Linked DNA regions of Homo sapiens: region 1 is linked to region 2. Evidence: promoter capture Hi-C in human tissues and cell types (Jung and others, 2019). All regions are on one chromosome and are shown on one strand. Each heading gives the region's core, a stretch centred on a gene start or on the middle of the fragment in contact. The rest is flanking DNA. Distances are from core to core; before and after follow the strand shown. Region 1 overlaps NFILZ (NFIL3 like basic leucine zipper). Region 2 holds the start of ACTL9 (actin like 9).

What was found. Contacts are between HindIII fragments. The study calls those that stand out against the background at their distance.
Region 1: a fragment that was not itself captured here is called in contact with the fragment with the promoter of ACTL9 in region 2 in 1 of the 25 tissues and cell types used here (psoas muscle).

What each region holds. Positions count from the first base shown.
Region 1 is chr19:8,646,117-8,651,348 of GRCh38, forward strand. The region is part of intron 3 of NFILZ (NFIL3 like basic leucine zipper); the gene reads left to right. Among named protein-coding and RNA genes, the nearest start is that of NFILZ, 18 kb to the left of the region's middle. The HindIII fragment of the contact is 7,952 bases long and covers 1-5,232 here.
Region 2 is chr19:8,696,743-8,701,629 of GRCh38, forward strand. It overlaps ACTL9 (actin like 9), which reads right to left and starts at 2,053. Exons shown (of 1, transcript NM_178525.5): 1 at 658-2,053. The coding sequence starts at 1,959. The coding sequence ends at 709. The HindIII fragment of the contact is 20,213 bases long and covers 1-4,887 here.

The DNA.
Region 1 (5,232 bases), core at 2,011-4,510, 49 kb before region 2:
ACCTCTGCCTCCTGGGTTCAAGTGATTCTCCTGCTTCAGCCTCCCGAGTAGCTGGGATTATAGGTGTGTTCCACCACACCCAACTAATTTTTATACTTTTAGTAGAGATGGGGTTTCACCATGTTGGCCAGGCTAGTCTCGAACTCCTGACCTCAAGTGATCTGCCCACCTCGGCCTCCCAAAGTGCTGGGATTACAGGCGTGAGGCACTGCGCCCAGCCTAACCACTTGCCTTGTATTAATCTCCATTGCACAGATGAGGAAGCTGGGGCGCAGAGAGGTTAAGCAATTTGTCCAAGGCCACACAGCTGGCGTGGCCAGAACCAGGATTCCTGGACCCCTCACCTTGTGTTCAGTTCTGCCACTTGCTTCTGTTTTTACACCCAAAGGAGTTCTGACTGTTTCCCAGTAATGCCAGAGGCTGCATAACTGGAGAGAGGAAGTAAGAGCCACTCTTCCTTTGCCTAGAACCGTCAGTGGCTCCCCGAGGCCCCTGGGTTAAAGACCACAATCCCCACTGTGGCCGGCAAGCCCTGCACAATGCAGTTCCCTCTATCACTTCCCGTCCTGTCTCCCACTGCTGTCCCCACGTCACTCAGCCCTCACCGAGCTCCTCTTTGTCCCTCCAATTTGCCAAACACCTCAGGACCTTTGTCTGTGCTGTTCCCTCTGTCTAAAATGCCCTTCCTCTGCTGCTCCTCCTAAACCAAGAGCAAATGCGTATCCTCAGAGAAGTGACCCCTCACAGCCTTCCTCCTGACCCGGATCTAGGCTAGGAAAACCCAGGCAGGAAGAACACAGGCCCTGAGGCAGCTGGCCCCAGTTCAAATCCGACTCCATGACTGCCTTGCTGTGTGACCTTGGGCGGATACCTTGATCGCTCTGTGCCTCAGTTTCCTCATCTGTAAAATAGGATGTTAATAGGCAGGTACTCCTGCCTTATAAGTTTGGGTGAGGATCAGAGGAGGCTATTATGTGGAACGTGATTAGAACAATGCTGAACTCAGTTATGCAGGCAGCTAATAACAGTAGTGTAAAGGCAAGGGTTGGTGCACTATTCACAATAGCAAAGACATGGAATCAGCCCAAATGCCCATCAATGATAGACTGGATAAAGAAAATGTGGTACATACACACCGTGGAATACTATGGAGCCATACAAAGGAATGAGATCGGCCAGGCGCGGTGGCTCATGCCTGTAATCCCAGCACTTTGTGAGGCTGAAGTGGGTGGATCACCTGAGGTCAGGGGTTTAAGACTAGCCTAGCCAACATGGTGAAACCTTGTCTCTACTAAAAATACAAAAATTAGCTGGGCATGGTGGCAGGCGCCTGTAATCCCAGCTACTTGGGATACTGAGGCAGGAGAATCACTTGAACCCAGGAGGTGGAGGTTGCAGTGAGCCGAGATCGCACCACTGCACTCCAGCCTGGGGGACAAGAAGGACATTCTGTCCCCGCACCCCCCCCCCCAAAAAAAGGGAACGAGATCATGTCCTTTGCAGGGATGTGGATAGAGCTGGAAGCCATCATTCTCAGCAACCTAAACCAGGAACAGAAAACCAAACGCTGCATGTTCTCACTTATAAGTGGGAACTGAACAATGAGAACACATGGACACAGGGAGGGGAACAACACACACACACACACACACACGCACACATGCGCGCGCGCGCGCGCGCACACACACACACACACACACACACACACACACACACACACAACTGGGGCCTGTTGGGGGAGGGCAGGGTGGGAGAGCATCAGGAAAAATAGGGAAGCCAGGTGCGGTGGCTCGTGCCTGTAATCCCAGCACTTTGGGAGGCCGAGGCGGGTGGATCACGAGATCAGGAGATCAAGACCATCCTGGCTAACACGGTGAAACCCCGTCTCTACTAAAAATACAAAAAAAATTAGCCGGGCATGGTAGCGGGTGCCTGTAGTCCCAGCTACTTGGGAGGCTGAGGCAGGAGAATGCTGTGAACCTGGGAGGTGGAGCTTGCAGTGAGCCGAGATTGAGCCACTGTACTCCAACCTGGGCATGAGCGAGACTCCGTCTCAAAAAAAAAAAAAAAAAAAAAAAGGAAAAATAGGGAATGCCGGGCTTAATACCTAGGCGATGGGTTGACAGGTGCAGCAAACCCCCATGACACACGTTTACCTATGTCACAAACCTGCACGTCTCGCACATGTACCCTGGAACTTAAAAAAATAAATAAATAAAGGGAAGGGAAGAATGGGAAGCTAGTGTTTAATGGGTATGCTGTTTTGGTTTTGCAAGATGAAGCATTCTGGAGGCGGATGGTGGTGATGGTTGCACAATGTGAGTGTGCTTAATGCCTCTGAACTGTATGGACGCTGAGAAATGATTAAAATGGTTAGTTTTACATTATGTATATATTACTACACAAAAAAGGCAGATGTGGCTGGGCATGGTGGCTCATGCCTGTAATCCCAGATCTTTGGGAGGCCGAGGCTGGCAGATCACTTGAGGTCAGGAGTTCAAGACCAGCCTGGCCAACATGGTGAAACCCCATCTCTGTTAAAAATACAAACAAAACAAAACAAACAAACAAACAAAAAACCCAAAACTAGCCAGGCGTGGTGGTGCATGCCTGTAATCCCAGCTACTTGGGAGGCTGAGGGCAGGAGAATGGCTTGAACCTGGGAGGTGGAGATTTGCAGTGAGTCAAGACCATGCCATTGCACTCCAGCCTGGGCAACAAAGTGAGACTCTGCTTAAAAAAAAAAAAAAGGCAGATGTAAAAAAAGTAAAATTGTGATTTCAGGAAGCCCCTATCTTTTCTTTCAAGGCCCTTATCTCACCCTATAATTAAGCATATTTATGTATTTTTATTTATTTAGTTTTGAGACATGATCTTGCTTTGTCACCCAGGCTGGAGTGCAGTGGCATGATCATGGTTCACTGCAGCCTTAGACTCCTGGGCTCAAGTGATCCTTCCACCTCAGCCTCCTGAGTGGCTGGGACCACAGGCAGGCACCACCACACCTGGCTGACTTTCGTATTTTTTTTTGGAGAGATGGGGTCTTGCCACGTTGCCCAGGCTGGTCTTGAACTCCTGGGTTCAAGCAATCCTCCCACCTTGGCCTCCCAAAGTGCTGGGATTACAGGGGTGAGTCACCACACCTGGCAATTAAGCAATTTTTTTTTGAGACAAAGTCTCGCTCTGTTGCCCAGGCTGGAGTGCAGTGGTGTTATCTTGGCTCACTGAAACCTCTACCTCCCGAGTTCAAGCGATTCTTCTACCTCAGCCTCCTGAGTAGCTGGGATTACAGGTGCATGCCATCACGCCTAGCTAATTTTTTGTATTTTTGTTAGAAACGGGATTTTGCCATGTTGGCCAGGCTGGTCTTGAACTCCTGACCTCAGGTGATCCACCTGCCTTGGCCTCCCGAAGTGCTGGGATTACAGGCGTGAGCTACCGTGCCCGGCATAATTAAGCATTTTCAAAGCATAATTTTTCCATGAGCGCCTGTCTTGCCGGCTCTGCTGTATGGGTCCTGTTTTACTGAACTTTGGTTTTCTTGGTCCAGCCCAGTCCCTGGGCAGGGTGGGGAAAGCAGTTTGCCTCACATTGTCTGCAGAGAATTGAAAAGCAAGAATAAAAATCACCAGAAGGCAGTCTGCTTTTATCATTCACATATGCCCAGAATTCTAAAGAATGTTAGTAATAAAATACCCTGAAAAAAAAAATCTTTTGGCCGGGCGTGGTAGCTCACGCCTGTAATCCCAGCACTTTGGGAGGCTGAAATGGGCAGATCACCTGAGGTCAGGAGTTCGACACCAGCCTGCCTAACATGGTGAAACCCCGTCTGTACTAAAAATACAAAAATTAGCCGGTCTTGGTCGTGGGCGCCTGTAATCCCAGCCACTTGGGAGGCTGAGGCAGGAGAATGGCGTGAACCCGGGAGGTGGAGGCTGCAGTGAGCTGAGATCATGCCACTGCACTCCAGCCTGGCCAGCTGAGCAAGACTCCGTCTGAAAAAAAAAAAATTGGTTCCAAAAAATTACTGCGGTTACAGCTGAGGTTTTTTTTTTTGTGGTTGTTTGTTTTGATAACTTTTACATTTTGAAATAGTTTAAGACTTACAAGAAGCTGCAAAAATAGCACAGAGCTCTCATGTCCCCTGCACCCAGCTTCCTCTAACAAGATCTTACATGACCACAGTCCAGTGTCAAGATCAGCACATTGCATGAGTGAGTTAGCCCTACATGGATGGGTATAAAGAAATTAATAGAGGCTGCGTGCGGTGGCTCACGCCTGTAATCCCAGCACTTTGGGAGGCCAAGGCAGGGGGATCTCCTGAGGTCAGGAGTTTGAGACCAGCCTGGTCAACATGGCAAAACCCGTCTCTACTAAAAATACAAAAATTAGCCGGGCGTGGTGGCACGCGCCTGTAATCCCAGCTACTGGGGAGTCTGAGGCAGGATAATTGCTTGAACATGGGAGGCGGAGGTTACAGCGAGCAAAGATTGAACCACTGCACTCCAGCCTGCAAGATGGAGTGAGATTCTGTCTCAAAAAAAAAAAAAAAAGAAGAAAGAAATAGAAATAAAAGGAAACTCATGCTAAAAAAAAAGATCAGGACATTGATGCTGATAGAATATGACTGATTCTCTCCAGTACAGAATTTACTTGGATTTCTCTAGTTACTATTTATTTTCATAATTTACGTATTTATTTATTTGAGGTTTCATAATGTACATGTAAACTTCAACTTAGCGCATTTTCATCATTTATTCTTGGTGAACTTTGTGTTCTCCATGGAAATTAATTCAGAGAAATTCCCATGTACAGAGGCAGTCCACATAAGCGGATTTAATTATCCACTTTCTTTTTCTTAAATTTATTTTTAGTTATTGTGGAACCATAATAGGTGTACATATTTATGGAGTATATGTGATATTTTGATAAAAACATACAATGTGTCCTGATAAAATCAGGGTAATTGTGACGTCCATTACCCCAAACATTTATTTGTGTTAGGAACGTTTCAATTACAATTGTTTAATTATTTCAAAATATATAATAAGCTTTTTTTTTCTTAGATGGAATCTTGCTCTGTTGCCCAGGCTGGAGTGCAGTGGAGTGATCTCAGCTCACTGCAACCTCCGCCTCCCAGGTTCAAGCGATTCTCCTGCCTCAGCCTCCTGAGTAGCTGGGATTACAGGTGCCCACCACTAGGCCCAGCTAATTTTTGCATTTTTAGTAGAG
Region 2 (4,887 bases), core at 803-3,302:
AGCATACTAAGGGGGGTGGCAGTTTGGAGGGTTTGGAGCCCAGGGGTATTTTGGGATGCTATATCAAAAGCAATAGATAATGGGGTGAGATTAGGGAGTCAGTATTTGAGGATGTCTTGGGCACATAGTGGGTAATTAATGAATGTATGTGGGATCAATGCATGAATCACTTAAACTAGAAATGGAAGGAATTGGGTATGTGGCTTGGGTATGTGGCAGACCCTAGGGGTGTGTGTGGGCATGGGGTGGGTGGTCAGAGGCTTTCATGTTCTTCATGTTTGGGGTTGGGGGCAGGTGCCAGGTGGAGGCTTATCTATGACTCATAGGAGGAGGTGATATTTCTAACAATAGCCTTGAGGTAGTGAACTCCCCATCTCTGGGAGTGTGTAAATGGGAAGGGCACTTGTCAGAGGTGGTCTGGGGAGGGGGTGTCCCAACCCAAGGGTGCCTGGGGAGGGGCACAGATCACAGGAGGATGGGTTGACAGGATTAGAACTTAGTGGTCTGTTGGGAGTTATTCATGGGGAAGGTGGGTTTAGGGGGTCAGGATTGGGGTGTCTCAGGGCATGCATCACAGGAGGTGAGTTAGGTCAGCCTGTGGGGCGAGGTGCCCAGGAGTGGATGGGGCAGGCCCTGGAGGAAGGACAGGACAGAGCCGGCTGTAGCAGAGGCTTTACTGCCCCCACGCCCTCCCCAGCTCTGCCCTGGTCAGTAGCATTTGCGGTACACGATATAGGGACCCTGTTCCTCGTACTGCTCCCGCAGGACCCAGCAGGACTGGAAGGCGCGCAGGGAGGCCAGGATGGAGCCCCCGATCCATACGGAGAAATTCCTGGTGGGCTGGGCAGCCACCACCACGTGGGTCTCGGCTGGCAGAGCGCGCAGCAGCTCTGCCCGGAAGCGACCCTCGAAGCCGGTGAAGAGCGAGGACCCACCGCAGAGAAGCACGTTTTGGGCCAAGTCCGCGCGCATCTCCAGTGACAACTTGCGGAGACTCTGCTTGGCCATGGTGGAGAGGCCGACGGGTGACAGCCCCGGGACCTCTGGGGGGTTGAACAGCAGCTCCGGACACTGGAACAGCTCCTTGCCCAGGGTGACCGTGCGCCCATCGGGCAGCTTCAGAGTCCGCTTGTACTCCTGCTCCGGCCGGGCCTGCTCCTTCTGGAAGTCGGAGGCCACGTAGCAATAGTGGTGCTTAATGTTCTCCACTAGGTCCAGGTCCTGCTGTCCCAGGGGCAGGCCGGCCTGGAGCAGCATCTCCGCCAGGAAGGCGGTCAGGTTGTTGCCCGCCAGGTCCAGACGCTCCGTGGCGTGGAGCAGGTTGTAGCCCTGGAAGACGGGCACTGTGTAGGTGACCCCGTGTCCCGTGTCCACCACCAGCCCGCTGACACGACCGTGGGCGTAGACAGACAGCACCGACTGCGATGCCACGTACATGGCTGGGGAGCGCAGCGACTCGAAGGCCACCTCCACTAGCTTCTCGCGGTTGGTGGCCGGGCTGAAGGGTGGGTCGGAGAACAGCAGCGGGTGGTCGTGGGTGGCCACTCGGAGGTCGTGCTCCAGCAGGTGGCGCCAGATGAGCTCGGCGGCATCCCAGTCCACGACGATGCCGCTGCGCAGGGGTTGCACCAGCGTCAGCTCTGGGAGCACGCGGGCTGCCTCGCCGATGAACGTCTGCAGCCCGGACTGCCCCGAGGTGGCGGGTTTCTTGGGCTGGCAGCCCAGGATGGTGGCCACGGTGTAGGTGGGGCTGGCCTGCCCAGCAAAACCTACCTTACAGGTGCCTGTGCCCATGTCAATAACCACCGCGCCGGTCTTTGGTGGCAGCCTGTCGGCCACCATGCCGGGGGAGTCCCGCTGCAGGGGCTTGTTCACCACGTTGGGACTGGGGTTTGGGCCGGGCCTGGGGGCCTCCAGGGAGGACTGGGATTCCGAGGACTTGGGGCGACTTGCATCCATGGTTGCGGGACGCCAGGTGAGGGGGCTTTTCCTCTGGGGTTGGGGTTGCGGGGAGAAGAGGTTGAGGCCCGGCCAGTGGGGAGGGCAGGCAGACAGGGGGAGGGGTGGGCCCGCAATCTATGACGTCACGGTGCCCCTTCAGTCTTCTTAAGACATCACAATGCAGCCAAGAGGATGGGTCCCTGCCCAGCCCTGCCTGCCCAAAGGCTGTCATCTCTTCTCTGAAGAGCCAAATTTGGAGGAGGAGATGAGCATCTCAGAGCAGGGCCCTCTTAACACATTTCTGTCGGATGCGCTAGAAGCTAATACGATGGCACCTGGTTTTTGAGAAAAGACAAGCTTTTTGTTGCATGTCAACCCACTGGGAGCTAGGAATCCAGCACAAGTCTGTTTCTCAGCTGGCTTTAAGGCAGTAATTTTATTAGAAAAGTTCTGGGGCCGGGGGCTGTGGCTCACACCTGTAATCCCAGCACTTTGGGAGACCGAGGTGGGAGATCACCTGAGGTCAGGAGTTCGAGACCAGCCTGGCCAACATGGTGAAACCCGTCTCTACCAAAAAATACAAAAATTAGCCTGGCATGGTGGCGCATGCCTGTGGTCCCAGCTACTGGGGAGGCTGAGGCAGGAGAATCACTTGAACCCAGGAGGTGGAGGTTGAAGTGAACCAAGATCATGCCACCGCACTCCAGGCTGGGGGATGGAGTGAGACTCTGTCTCAAAAGAAAAAGAAAATAAAAGAAAAAAAATTAGCCAGGCATGGTGGCACATGCCTGTAGTCCCAGCTACTAGGGAGGCTGAGGCAGGAGAATCTCTTGAACCCGGGAGGTGGAGGTTGCAGCGAGCCAAGATCATGCTACTGCACTCCAGCCTGTATGACAGAGCGAGACTCATCTCAAAACAAACAAACAAACAAACAAAGAAACAAACAAAAAACCCTCATAAGTGGAAGGCATTTCAGCAAGTTGTTTCTTTTTTGATCTGCCATTCTGCAAGCTCAAACATTTCTTTGGGGCATGGTTTCACTAAAAACATGCAAAATTGGTTTCTCTAACTCTTTGGGCCACGCTTTCAGGAAGACCCAGGAATCCTCCTCTGGGTACCTCGCCATGAAGCTATTTACAGCCTAGTGGCAGAGAGCTTGCCACAGGCCTCCCTAGAATATTAGAATATTCCTCCTCAGAATATTAATTAGAAGGTGGGGCGGGCTAGCATGGCTTCCTGGTTTCCAAATGGAGACAGAGGCCAGCCTTGGTTGGGGATGGAGAGAGGCAGGGAGAGACAGGAACACCCCTGTCCTAGATTCTTTGCTTCCTCTGCTATATTCACTGCCTGAATCATTCTCCCTGTCCCATTCCTGCCAAGAAGGAATTTGCCTCTTCAAATCTCAGTCTGATGCCACCTCCTCCTGGAAGCCAACCCTGATTTCTACTCTGTACTCCAACTAGATGAGGGATGGGGGAAGTCTGCCTTCTCTCCAGGGGTTGTTACCTGCTTCCTCCTGGCAGGAGAGGGGCTCAGTGAGATACAAGAAGGGGTTTCAGTATAGATAAAAGGGGAGAGGGTGCATTTGGGAGGAAGGAATTATCTCAACAATAAATAGCAGGCTTCAAAATGCATTAGGAGAGTTGCTTCAAGACCATGGCTGTTTTTGGTGATATCAGATATCACCTGTTAGTTAAAGCAAATAAAAACGTTTTTCTTAGTGTATGTTCATGCATGTGGTGGTAGAAATCACCAGGAATAGTGCTAGTGAATGTCTTATGGGATATCTAAATGAAAGAGGTTTAATTTTCTAGTTGTGTCTAGATTTATTACTCTGCCAGAGTGTGGTTTATTGAGCATTTTAATTAATTATTGATTTACTGGTATGTGTGGTCTAATCCATGCTTTTGGAAATATTTACTCAGCAATTTATTGAGGGTCTGTTTTTTGGACTGTTCACAACAACCAGAAATACACTAAGTGATAACACTTTATTGTTTTCAATTTTTTTTTGAGACTGGGTCTTGCTATATTGTCCAGGCTGGAGTGTAGTGGTGCAATCACTGCTCACTGCAGCCTCCTTAACCTCGTGGTCTCAAGCAATCCTCCCACTTCAGCCTCCAAAGTAGCTGGGACTATAGGCATGTGCTACTATCTCCGGATAAGTTTTTAATTTTTTGTAGAAATGGGGTCTTGCTATGTTGCCCAGGCTGATCTTGAGCTCCTGGGCTCAAGTGATCCTCCTGTCTTAACCTCCCAAAGTGCTGGGATGACAGGGATTAGCCACCATGCCTGGCCTTTCTTCATTTTCTGATTTTAAAACATGGCAACTTCTTATGGCAACTTTATGACTTAGGAATGGGTACTATGTCTATTTTTTTGATGGAAAAGAAGCTCAGAGAGGTCAAGTGATTGTTCAAAGTCACAACTGGTATGAGACAGAGGCAGGAGTTGAGCCTACATCTTTGACTTACTTCAGTGGCTGACTGTGAGTCTGGGAAATTGTGAAATCTAAGATCCACCCAAAACAGCCAGGCATGGTGGCTCACATCTGTAGTCCGAGATACTAGGGATGCTGAGGTGGGAGGATCACCTGAGCCCAGGAGTTGGAGGCTGCAGTGAGCCAAGATCACACCACTGCACCCAGCCTGGGTGACAGAGCGAGACCCTGTCTCAAGGAACAAACAAACAAACAAACATACAAACAAACAAGAAAAACCCACTAAAAATAGAACAGAAACAAAGGTTGGGACTCTGTGAGCCTCCATTTCCTCTCTTCTTGGATAAAATGAGGATACCTTGTCTGGCACTTAATAGATGCTAGCTTCTGAGATACTGAAGCAACAATATAGGAAAATATCGTGATTATAGGCAACAAAGCCATGATGTGCCTAAGGCCACAGATCCGGGGCCAGGCTTCTGGAATTTAAGCCCTGACTCCTCTGC